Linked DNA regions of Homo sapiens: regions 1 and 3 are each linked to region 2. The links are contacts of gene promoters, found by promoter capture Hi-C in human tissues and cell types (Jung and others, 2019). All regions are on one chromosome and are shown on one strand. The core of a region is centred on a gene start or on the middle of the fragment in contact, and the rest is flanking DNA. Distances in the headings are between cores, read along the strand shown. Region 1 overlaps GUCY2D (guanylate cyclase 2D, retinal). Region 2 holds the start of EIF4A1 (eukaryotic translation initiation factor 4A1). Region 3 holds the start of CHD3 (chromodomain helicase DNA binding protein 3).

Region 1 (3,490 bases), core at 599-3,098, 450 kb before region 2:
ATCCTCTTTCAAAGGCTTCCCTTCTTCCCATCCAAGGCAATCACTCCGCAGTGCTTGGATCTATCCCCACTGGACACAGGAGCCTCATTCCCCCGTCACCCCATCCCATGTCTCCCTCACAGTACTGGCTTCCCCCCTTCAGCATGCTGATGATCTTAAACCTCTCCCTTCTTCAAAAGAGGAGCACAGGACCTCCAGCTCTGCTTCCCTTCTGGCTCCCAGTGGAGCATCTTGTACAGCTGCATCATCACAGGGCATGTCCTCTGGCCTTCTCTGGGAAGCATTTACTCAGGGAAGGACCAGTTTCTGGGATCAGCTCTGGTCTTGAGATAATCTGAGATCATCTATTTCAGCCACCCCATGGCTGGGCCTCTTCTCCAAGCGCCAGAAAGGCTTCCACCCCTTGGCATCATTGAGGATAAGAGCTCAGCACTGGACCCTCCTCATTGCCTTTTCAGAGCCTGAAGCAGTCTGGGGCCTTCCAGGGCAGACCTTCAAAGCTGGGTATGCAGTCCCTCAGGCCTTGTTTCCACTGGGGCCGCGACCTACCCTGCCCTCGCCTCTGCCCTGGAAGAGAGTGTGGCAGGAGCTCTGGGTGCCCATCCCTTTATCCTTGGATAAAGGCTAAGCCCTGGGAGAGGTGACCCCAGGGACTGTGGTTGAGGACCAGCCAGTCCATGCAGGAGAACCCCTGTGGCCTCAGCGGCCCCTGGTTGATAGTTGCAATAGGAATATGCCGATGGAGGCATGCAGCTTGGGAGTGGGTGATCAAGGCTGAGAGAGAGGCCTAGGAGATGACATGCTGGCCAGAGACAAAGGGAATGATGTTGAGGCGAGGCCATAAAGTGCGTGGCTATGGATAGGTGTCTGCTTGGCATAGTGGTTTGGGTGAGGAGGTGGAGTAGATGGGAAAGCCACCTGTTGAACTTGCAGCCATCAGCACATCGTAATCAAATGGACCAACATTTCATCACCGTGAAAACATCACGAAGGTTTTTGTTTGTTTGTGACAGTCTCGCTCTGGAATGCAGTGGTGTGATCTCAGCTCACTGCAACCTTGACCTTCCGGGCTCAAGTGATCATCCTGCCTCAGCCTCCGGAGTAGCTGGGACTGCAGGTGTGCACCACCATGCTTGGCTAATTTTTGTGTTTTGTAGAGACAAGATTTTGCTATGTTGCCCAGGCTGGTCTAGAACTCCTAGGCTCTAGTGATTCTCTTACCTCAGCCACCCCAAGTGCTGGGATTACAGGCATGAGCCACTGTGCCCAGCCATCGTGAGGGTTTTGAGGTATGAAAGAAGAAGAGAGAGAGAGAGAGAGAGAGAGAGAAAAAGAAAGAAGAGAAAGAAAAGAGAAAGGAAAGAAAGGAAGAAAGAAAGAAAAGAAAGAACCCAACGCAACCTGGCTTAAGCAAAGAAAATAATTTGCTGGCCCATGTTGCTTAAACAGCCGGACTTGGCTTTAGGCCCAGTGAGGTATCCCAGCTCAGACAGTAGCCATCAGGACTTTGTCTCTCTCCATCTGCCAGTTCAGCTCTGTCTTTGTGGTGGCAAGGATCTCTCAATGTCCCATCCTCTCAGCAACCCCCCAAGAAGACAATTTCTCCCCATGGCTTCAAACAACGTCCCAGCACCGAGCTTCATCAGCCTGGCCCAGCTCATCTGTCTTTGAGGCCAGAGGAACGGAATGATTGGGCTGGCCTGAAGGGGGAAGTCAGCAGTCAGTTCTAGCCACTTCCACTGGGATTAAGAATGGGGCACAGATGGCTGCCCACTGCCCAGCAGGATGGATGTAGGAAGGCAGCACAGTCGATGTCCATTACAGGTCATCCTGTCTGGGACATTGGGCCTGGCACGGGAACAGCTGGGCTCCCGGAAGACTTAGGGGCCAGTCACCCACTGGTGATTTTGGGATAGTCTCTCCTGCTCTGAAGCTCCAGGGGCAGGTTTGTGAAGGGTCAGAGGTGGAGTGTGGGTTGTTGATGAGGTCCTGCCCAGAGACCAGTGGACCTCACCTTTCCCATCTGGGGGCCCTGTTCCTTCAGTCTTGGACTCTGGCTCCCATGTTTGTAGGTTATGGTCCATGGGTCATGGAGTCATGGCATAGACAAGCTCTGTCCTTCTCTTCCTTCTTCCCTCCTGCATACAATCAAGGGATGAAGCCACATCACCCACCTTAAAAGCGTCAGAGACCCTGGTCTTTTCCAGCAGCCTGAGAGGCCCGAGACTTCCCCAACTGGTTCTCTGAGCAGAGGAGTTCCTGGGAGCTGTTGGCCCCGGCCACTTCCCCTCTTCAGGCCATCTCTAAGGTTCAACCCTATCTGAAACCCTCCCTGGAAATGGCAGGGCTGAGCGTTCCAGAGATGGGGGTGTCGAGACTACTCTCCTGGCTAAAAGCAGCACACACCACAACATGGAAGACAGCATGCCTTTATTTCACCCACCCTCCCAGGACCCAAATACCATGGCACATGGCCTGGTATCCACGGTGCAAGGTCCAGAAGAGCCCGAGGAACACAGCCCAGCAATGCAGTGTCACAAATCCCTGCCAAGGAGCAGTTCACCCCACCTCCTCAAAGGGGGGTGCCTGGGGTCCACTGCAGATGGGACAGGGAGCAGGGCCCAGACCCTAAGGAGAAGCACAAAAAAAAAAAAAAAAAAAAAAAAGGCGCCAGGTGAGCCCCGGGACACGCTGTAGAGTCTCTGCCGTGGGATTGAAGCAGCAGCTATGAGAGGTCCCTGCTTTGGCCATCACTGCTCTGCCAGCTACAGAGCCATCTCCAAGGCAAGGACAACCGCAAGTGTGGGCTCCTGGCGCAGGCCAGCTGGCAGAGGTAGTGTAAACACATCTGAAGGTGGGGGATGCCCAGTGACCAAGCCAGGCCCCGGTGCTCTCATGCGCTGGGAGTTGCCCAGGCCACAGGAACAGGGTGGGGAGGACTTGAGTCAGCAGAGCCCTGAGACTGGATAACCGACTGGGTCCAGGAAATAAGATTTCCAGAGAAATGGTGGAAACTGCAGAGAAAGGCAGACAGAGACTGCCAGGCAGAAAGGGGACTGTGGGGACACAAAGACAGGAGAATAGAGCAGAAAGGGAGGCAGGAACAGAGAAAGGAGAGGCTGAGGCACAGAGAGGAGGCTGAGGCTTCATCTTTTGCCTTCTCTTCTCCCACTAGATCTGTGAACTCTGGGGTGGGGGTTCCCCAAGTTCTTCTAGCTGGGGAGGGGTCAGGGCTCTTCTATCACATCTGGTCACTTGAGCTTGAGGCCAGCCTGGGAAGGAGGCTGAGTGAAGGTGGGAAGGAACTGGCTCAGCCCTGCCCACTCCACTTCTACCTTAAACTGGGTCTGCCCTCTGGCTCATCCGCCTCTGCTTCCGGGAGGAGCCCTGCCTAAGCCTGTCCCAGCTAATCCCTCTGCACCTAATCCTGGACTCTTCCTTGAGGCAGCCGAAATCACACACCATTAACTACTCCAGGCCCTTGCAGGCA
Region 2 (3,113 bases), core at 48-2,547:
AATACCCAAAGGAGGAGTTTCTATAAAACTGAGGCATTTGCCCCATGCAGGCAGCGGCTCAGGCCAGGCCACCCCCGACATAAGGGGGTGACCCTTTCTGAAGACAGGCCGGCAGGCGTGCCGCCGCGCTCACGGTGCCCAGAGGTGGTGCTTGCCGCCGGGTCCACGTGGGCCCGACCCAGCCGCTTAAAGCCCAAGCGCGTGCACCTCCCACCGCAGCACCAGCGCGCTGGAAGTCCCGCCCTTCACCTCCCAGATCGGAGGGTAGGACATCCCCTTCCCCCCACGTCATCCCGCCCGCGCCCTCCCCCACTCCCTCCAGCCGAAGCCCCCCCCTCGCGTTGCCCGGATGTGGGAGGCCGCGGGCGGTGGCGGCCTCGCGCACAATGAGCCCAAGCCGAGCTAGCAAAGGGGGAGATTGCACAACACTTAGAAGCGAAGCAGACTGGGGGAGGGGAACGCCTCAGGCCACCATGTGCTCGCTCCCTCGACCACCCGGCGGCGTCTCCCACCCCTCCATGAACAATCCACATCCCGCCCGCCCCCGTCGCGAAGTAGCGTCGCCCTCCCATACCTCAGGCCGCTCACCCCCGAAGGAAGGTGGACCTGCCCATCCGCAGTTTGCCAATAGCCCGGCTTGTGCGGCAAAATGGACCCGCCCGCCCGGCGCCGGGTGGGCTCCTGGTGCCTCACGCGGCCGCTCCTCGGGGTTAGGCTCAGTCCTGGCCGTCAAGAAAACCAGCACACTGAACGGCCGGTTTCTTCTCCCCGACCCGTGTTTTAGCCGCGACGAAGTGACTGGATCTAAGGACCAGGCACCCCCGCCTCTCGCGAGTGGTACCGTCAGAATGCTCCGGAACCCCGCGCGCCGTCCCTCCCCCGGCACAGGGAGGCAACCGGACCTGCCGGCTCTGGGCCACACATAGTGGCGGCCGCCTCCACCTTTCTTTCCCACGCCAGGTCGCGACCCCGTCTCGCCACTCAGCGCCGGGGCTTCGCGCATGGCACCGCCTCGGGTCGAGGCCTCGTAACAGACCTCGCACGCCTGACCCTAGCCGGGCTGTCCCTACCCTCCGCCTCGACCTGGTGGCCGCGTCGGCCGTGGGTCTTCCCCCTCGCCCCTCCAAGTCGGACCCTCCCCCCACCCGGTTCGGTTTCTCCCGCAACCCTGGTGGGCCTCTCAGCTACCCCCGGCGGGCCCGTCGGAAGGGGGCGGCAAAATAAGCAGCCACAATCTCTTGCAAATGCCTTTCTTACCGGGAATCCTGGCTCGCAGACATGATCCTTAGAAACTAGGGCGGAGTGCCCGCCTATCGACAACTTATAGAGCGCCCGACTCCGCCCCGGCCATCGCATTGGTTTGGCCGCCCCGGCCCCGCCTGCCGGCGCTCAGCAACTCGGCATGACGTTAGTTCCTAGTCGCTCCGGCCCGCAGGCACCATTGGATAACTCGAGTGCCTATCAAGGTGAAGGCCCGCCCCGCAGCCTCATTGGCTGGAGGGCCCGCCTTTCTCGCCGGTACGGAAGTGACATAGAAGAGTCAGGCCTCGAGGCCTGGCAGCCATCTTGGGGCCCTGCACTCTCACACGTGCGGAGGCGACAGTGCCTTGGTCATGTGGCTCCGTAGGCCCTATCACGCAAGGGGGGCGAGGTCTCAGCCTCCAGAGGCTTCCGGGCTCTGGGGGTTATCACTTCCCTTTACTTCTGCTCCCGGTCTCCACTGGACTCAAATGTTATTTGTTTTCCCCTGTAGCAGAGATGGATTCGACACTGCCTGGACGTGTGCCAGGGATGAAGGAATCAACAGCGATATCGTAGGGATGGGAGGATTCCCCTGGCTGGATGGTGGAGGGATGGAAGAAAACTGTAAAGGGCTTTGGGGTACTATCATGAATCCTGGTTGGTCCCCTCCCCAGTCCCTTGTGTCCAGTTCCCCAGCTTCCCTCTCGGATGCCCTTATTCTTGAGGCTTATCTACTTTCCCTCCTTCCTGCTCTCTGCTCCCATCTCGGGGATTTGTTTGGGTGAAGACAAGGTGTTGGCAGTGCCTGAGCCAGGGATGGAAAGCTGAACCCTTTAGTCTCAAGAGACTGGCTGGAAGGTCTGAGCTAAGCATATCCACTAATTTGAAGCCCCTTAAGGAAGACCACCACTTACGTATCAACAAAGGATCCTTTATTGACCAGAGCAGGACCGTGGCATTTATATATTTTTATATATATATATATATATATATATATATATATATATATATATATATATATATATATATATATATATATATAAAAGTTTGAAGATCTGGCAGGCAGTGATCCTATTGTCCGCCCACCACCCCCAGCACTGATTTCCTGCTCCCTGCACGGGGAAGGGGGAGGATGACTGCTCCACCCAGGCCACAGGGCCACACTCCCCTGCAAACAGAGGAAGAAAGGGGCTTTTCTGTAGCCACCCCCTGCACATCAGAAATCAACAAGTATTCTCTCAAAGAAAAAAAAATACAGAAATTGAAACATTTAAATATGAAAAACCAAAGGGAAGTGAGTGGGAAGAGGCAAGAGAGGAAAGGAACTGGAGTTTCTTGGGAAGGGACTCCCATGTCTCCCTTCCCATTTATGGGCTTGGGGTCTGGGGTACGAGGCTCACACAGTGAGTTTGCAGTGACACAGCTCCTTGTAGATCTGCCGACGAAGTTTGGGCATGTCCTGCTGGGTGAAGCTGAATGGCTGAGACAGGGCCAGATGCTTGCAGTACTGGGTGTTAACAAAGCAAGCCATGAGAAACCCCCCGTGTCAGGACCTGTGCTACACATTTCATATGAGATGTGTCTCCATCCTTCAGAGAACATCCCCAAAGGGAGCCAGGGTCCCACAGCCTGGGGTTCAAAAACAGCCTGACTCTAAAGCTAGTGTTCTTACTTGATAGAATGTTTTAGATGGAGAAAATACACTGAGTTGGAGGTTAGCAGGGAGCTCTATGAAGGCCAGAGGCCCAAGACTAGAGACCCAGTCCCAATGTGGGATGGAGAAGTCCAGAAGAGAACCAGTGAAGCCAGTGTTTTGGTGTTCTAAAACAGATTACTTCCTGCTCCACAACTGACTATGAGCCAAATGAGGG
Region 3 (3,228 bases), core at 590-3,089, 320 kb before region 2:
ACTCTCTGACTTCTCCCGGTACTCATCTCGCTCAGAACCAAATTCCTCCTCACTGTCCTAAGAGAAAGAAATAAAAATAACATTTATTCATCCCTACCATTGCCAGAAACTGTTCTCAGCACATACCATATCTTACCTCTTTTAATCTTCACAACAATCCTGTGATAGTAACTAATTTTTTATCTCCTTTTTTTTTTTGGAGATGGAGTCTTGCTCTGTCACCCATGCTGGAGTGCACTGACGTGATCTCGGCTCACTGCAACCTCCACCTCCCGGGTTCAAGCGATTCTCCTGCCTCAGCCTCCTGTGTAGCTGGGATTACAGACGTACCACCGCGCCCGGCTGATTTTTGTATTTTTAGTAGAGACGGAGTTTCACCACATTGGCCAGGCTTGTCGCGAACTCCTGACCTCAAATGATCTACCCGGCTCAGCCTCCCAAAGTGCTGGGATTACAGGCGTGAGCCACTGCAACCGGCCTTTATCTACTTTTTACAGATGAGGAAACTAAGGCACAGAGAGCCAAATAAACGGCCTGGTATCCTAGACAGAGGAATGCTGGACTCTTGAATTCATACAGTCTTCCAGAGCTTGTGCTTTCAACTGCTTCTCTTTGCTGCTGAGGACACACTGACAACGAGGCTCTTCACTAGGTTGCAGTGAATGAAGTTAGGGTCCCAGATCCCTGAGATACAGGCCAACAGTGGCAGGGAAGTGGGGGGCCCGGGGGATCAAGCCTCCCTGGCTTCAGAACCCCACCCCCACACCAGTAATCAGGACCAGAGAAAATGTAGGTCTCTGAGAATGGGTCTCTTGAGCCTTGCCACAGAGTTAGGAATTCTTGACACTTACACGCTTCTTGCGTTTTCGGGGTTTTCCTGGCTTGTTCTCCTTCTGCTTCTTGGGTCCTCGTTTTCTCTTCTTCACACCCAATGCTGACGGCAGCAGCCGAATGTCATCCTTATCTTTGAAGCAAAAAGCATCAGAAAACCTAAGCCTCTAGGTTTCCAGCCTCTGAGGCCCCTCAACTTGCCCCTTCCCCACCTCGGCAGTTCCCACTCTCTAGGAAGCATTAACTCCTCCAAGCCCTGCCTCCCTTCACTGGATGCAAACAGAAAGTGTTTCGAGTACTCTGGGATGCTCTGGTTCTGAATGGGAGGTCAGGGGTCAGAAGAGAAGAGCAGCCAAACCACTCCCCTCCCTCCCCTCCTACTAACAAGAGACCAGGCTCCAGGCCATGGGCTCTGACTGTGGCAGGTCCTTTCAGTCACCGCCAGGGCTCCTCCTGCCTTCCCCCTCACTTCGCCAGCTGGCATCCTGCCCAGGAACTGGGGAAGCCATGCCCAGCTGCTGGCCTGGCCTGACCCCAGCACTTGGAGTGGGGAGACACAAGCTGGCAGCTCCCTAAGCCAGATGCTGGGGAGGGAGAGCCAAAGGTGGACACCTGGGTTCTCACACTAACACCCTGGGGCCCTGACATCCTTTTGCCAAGAGGGAGGCCTCTATTTACATTTCCTCGGATAATTACCAGGCATCCTGTCACCCCAACACAGTCCTGGAGGAAAAGAAATCCTCAGCTGGTCATTTTTACTTCTTGCCCACAGGATCACAGTGTCTGCCGCCTTCATCACACAGGAGAAAGTCTCCACAATTACCTAAATATTCCTCCTCCCAAGTAGCCTAAAACCTACCTTCAATTCTATTCCCATCTCCCTGCTCCCTTTGGGAACTAGGGGGCCATACCCTTTGTTTCCCGATCTCACCCTTCACCTCCATATTTTGTTCCAGATATCCTGACCCATTCATCTATACGCAGTATGGGAGACCCAAACAAAGATATAGGCACAGACAGACACACCCAGCATATGCCTTCTCAAAAGCACGCGCGCGCACGCGCGCACCCACACCCACACACACTCTCAGGCCCACAAATCCAGAGGATGGCCTGTACCTGCTTCAGCAGGGATAGGTCCCTGGCTTTCTCCCCAGATGTCTCTGCCAGAGGACCCCAGGCCCCCCACCCCATTATCTGTGAAGGTGTCACTCTGTGAAGGCTTGGGGAACGGAACGGAGAGTTACCCCACATAAAGGAAGACAGGATGCCCCACAGACCTGGGGCCCTGGGGCTCTGGTTCACGTCCCTCCCCTACCAAGCACTAGACTAACCAGCCAGACCTGTCTAGTACAGAGAGAGGCAGCCGATGCAAGATGGGAAAGCCTGGGCTTGGCCCAGCCCCTAGCTCTAGGACACACAATCCTTTCTCCTTCCCTCAACAGCCAACGGAAAATTAGCCACAATTAACACCAGAGGCCTCCGTTTCCACTGCCTCAGAGTCGCTGCCTCGCCTTCCTTCAGTGCCACCTTTCCTGCTAACTCCAGCATCCTGTGTCCCCTTGTGCAGGAAGACACTCTAGGACTGTGTGCGTGTGTGCAGGGGGGTGGCTGCCAGAGCCCGGGTGTGAAACGGAATGGGGACTGTAATAGGAAGTCAGCAAGGAAGGCGCCATGCCCCAGCAGCCGGCTCCCCCTGGCCCCAGGGACTTCGGTTGACTTGAACATGGAAACGCAGGCTGCCGAGGCAGTGGCAAGGGCAGGCCAACTGGCTAAGGTTCAGGGACACGGCCTCGGCCACCACCAGCCAGGGGTGGTGCACAAGCCGGTTCACTCTACTCCCCACCCCAGCGGGAGGTTCCCGAACTTGGGCAGGCGTCGGTGGCGGGAGAGGCAAAGCGAGAACGGCAAGGAAAAGCAAGGAAGGGTAATAAAGCAAATCTAAGTCCCAACCTCGGTCTCAGCAGCCACTCAATGCTGGCCTGGAGCCCAGACTCTCCCACATCCCCGGCTCGGATCTCAGGGAGGCAGGGAGGAGAGAGGCGGGGGCCGGAGGGCGCAGGGCGGAGCCTGGCCGCCCGAGCAAGCGGGAGGAGTCTCGGCCGAAGCCTCGCCTCCCGCCCGCCCCTCTCTTCTTCTAATCTCACCATCAATCTCTCACACATATATTTATTTTTTCTCAAATTCCCCTCCCTCCCCCACAACGCACCACCATAATAGGTCTGCTGCACATGCGTACTGCAGGCAGGGGGTGGGTTTGTATTTTCAGACCTTTTGCAAAGAAACTACCAGAATTTTCCGCACCACCCACAATCATTCCCCACCCCCACCCCCAAGGAATCACATCTATATATTATGTTATATTATTTCTCTCGACTTGCCAGAAGGGGGAGGGAG

What was found. Contacts are between HindIII fragments. The study calls those that stand out against the background at their distance.
Region 1: a fragment that was not itself captured here is called in contact with the fragment with the promoter of EIF4A1 in region 2 in 1 of the 25 tissues and cell types used here (IMR-90 fibroblasts).
Region 3: the fragment with the promoter of CHD3 here is called in contact with the fragment with the promoter of EIF4A1 in region 2 in 1 of the 25 tissues and cell types used here (adrenal gland).

The regions. Positions count from the first base shown.
Region 1 is chr17:8,019,266-8,022,755 of GRCh38, reverse strand. GUCY2D (guanylate cyclase 2D, retinal) reads right to left here. Exons shown (of 20, transcript NM_000180.4): 20 at 2,414-2,628. Among named protein-coding and RNA genes, the nearest start is that of ALOX15B, 18 kb to the left of the region's middle. The HindIII fragment of the contact is 6,779 bases long and covers 1-3,490 here.
Region 2 is chr17:7,571,009-7,574,121 of GRCh38, reverse strand. EIF4A1 (eukaryotic translation initiation factor 4A1) reads right to left here and starts at 1,297. Exons shown (of 11, transcript NM_001416.4): 1 at 1,258-1,297. The coding sequence starts at 1,280. SENP3 (SUMO specific peptidase 3) reads right to left here. Exons shown (of 11, transcript NM_015670.6): 11 at 2,153-2,749. The coding sequence ends at 2,639. It overlaps SENP3-EIF4A1 (SENP3-EIF4A1 readthrough (NMD candidate)), which reads right to left. Exons shown (of 22, transcript NR_037926.1): 11 at 2,643-2,749; 12 at 1,258-1,838. RefSeq lists enhancers at 1-69, 1-287, 288-1,043, 1,550-1,619, 1,740-1,799 and 2 more and silencers at 210-349, 1,250-1,309, 1,320-1,379. The HindIII fragment of the contact is 10,064 bases long and covers 1-3,113 here.
Region 3 is chr17:7,887,400-7,890,627 of GRCh38, reverse strand. CHD3 (chromodomain helicase DNA binding protein 3) reads right to left here and starts at 1,839. Exons shown (of 40, transcript NM_001005273.3): 1 at 1,528-1,839; 2 at 852-964; 3 at 1-57. The coding sequence starts at 1,627. RefSeq lists an enhancer at 838-1,407 and a silencer at 2,817-2,976. The HindIII fragment of the contact is 8,044 bases long and covers 394-3,228 here.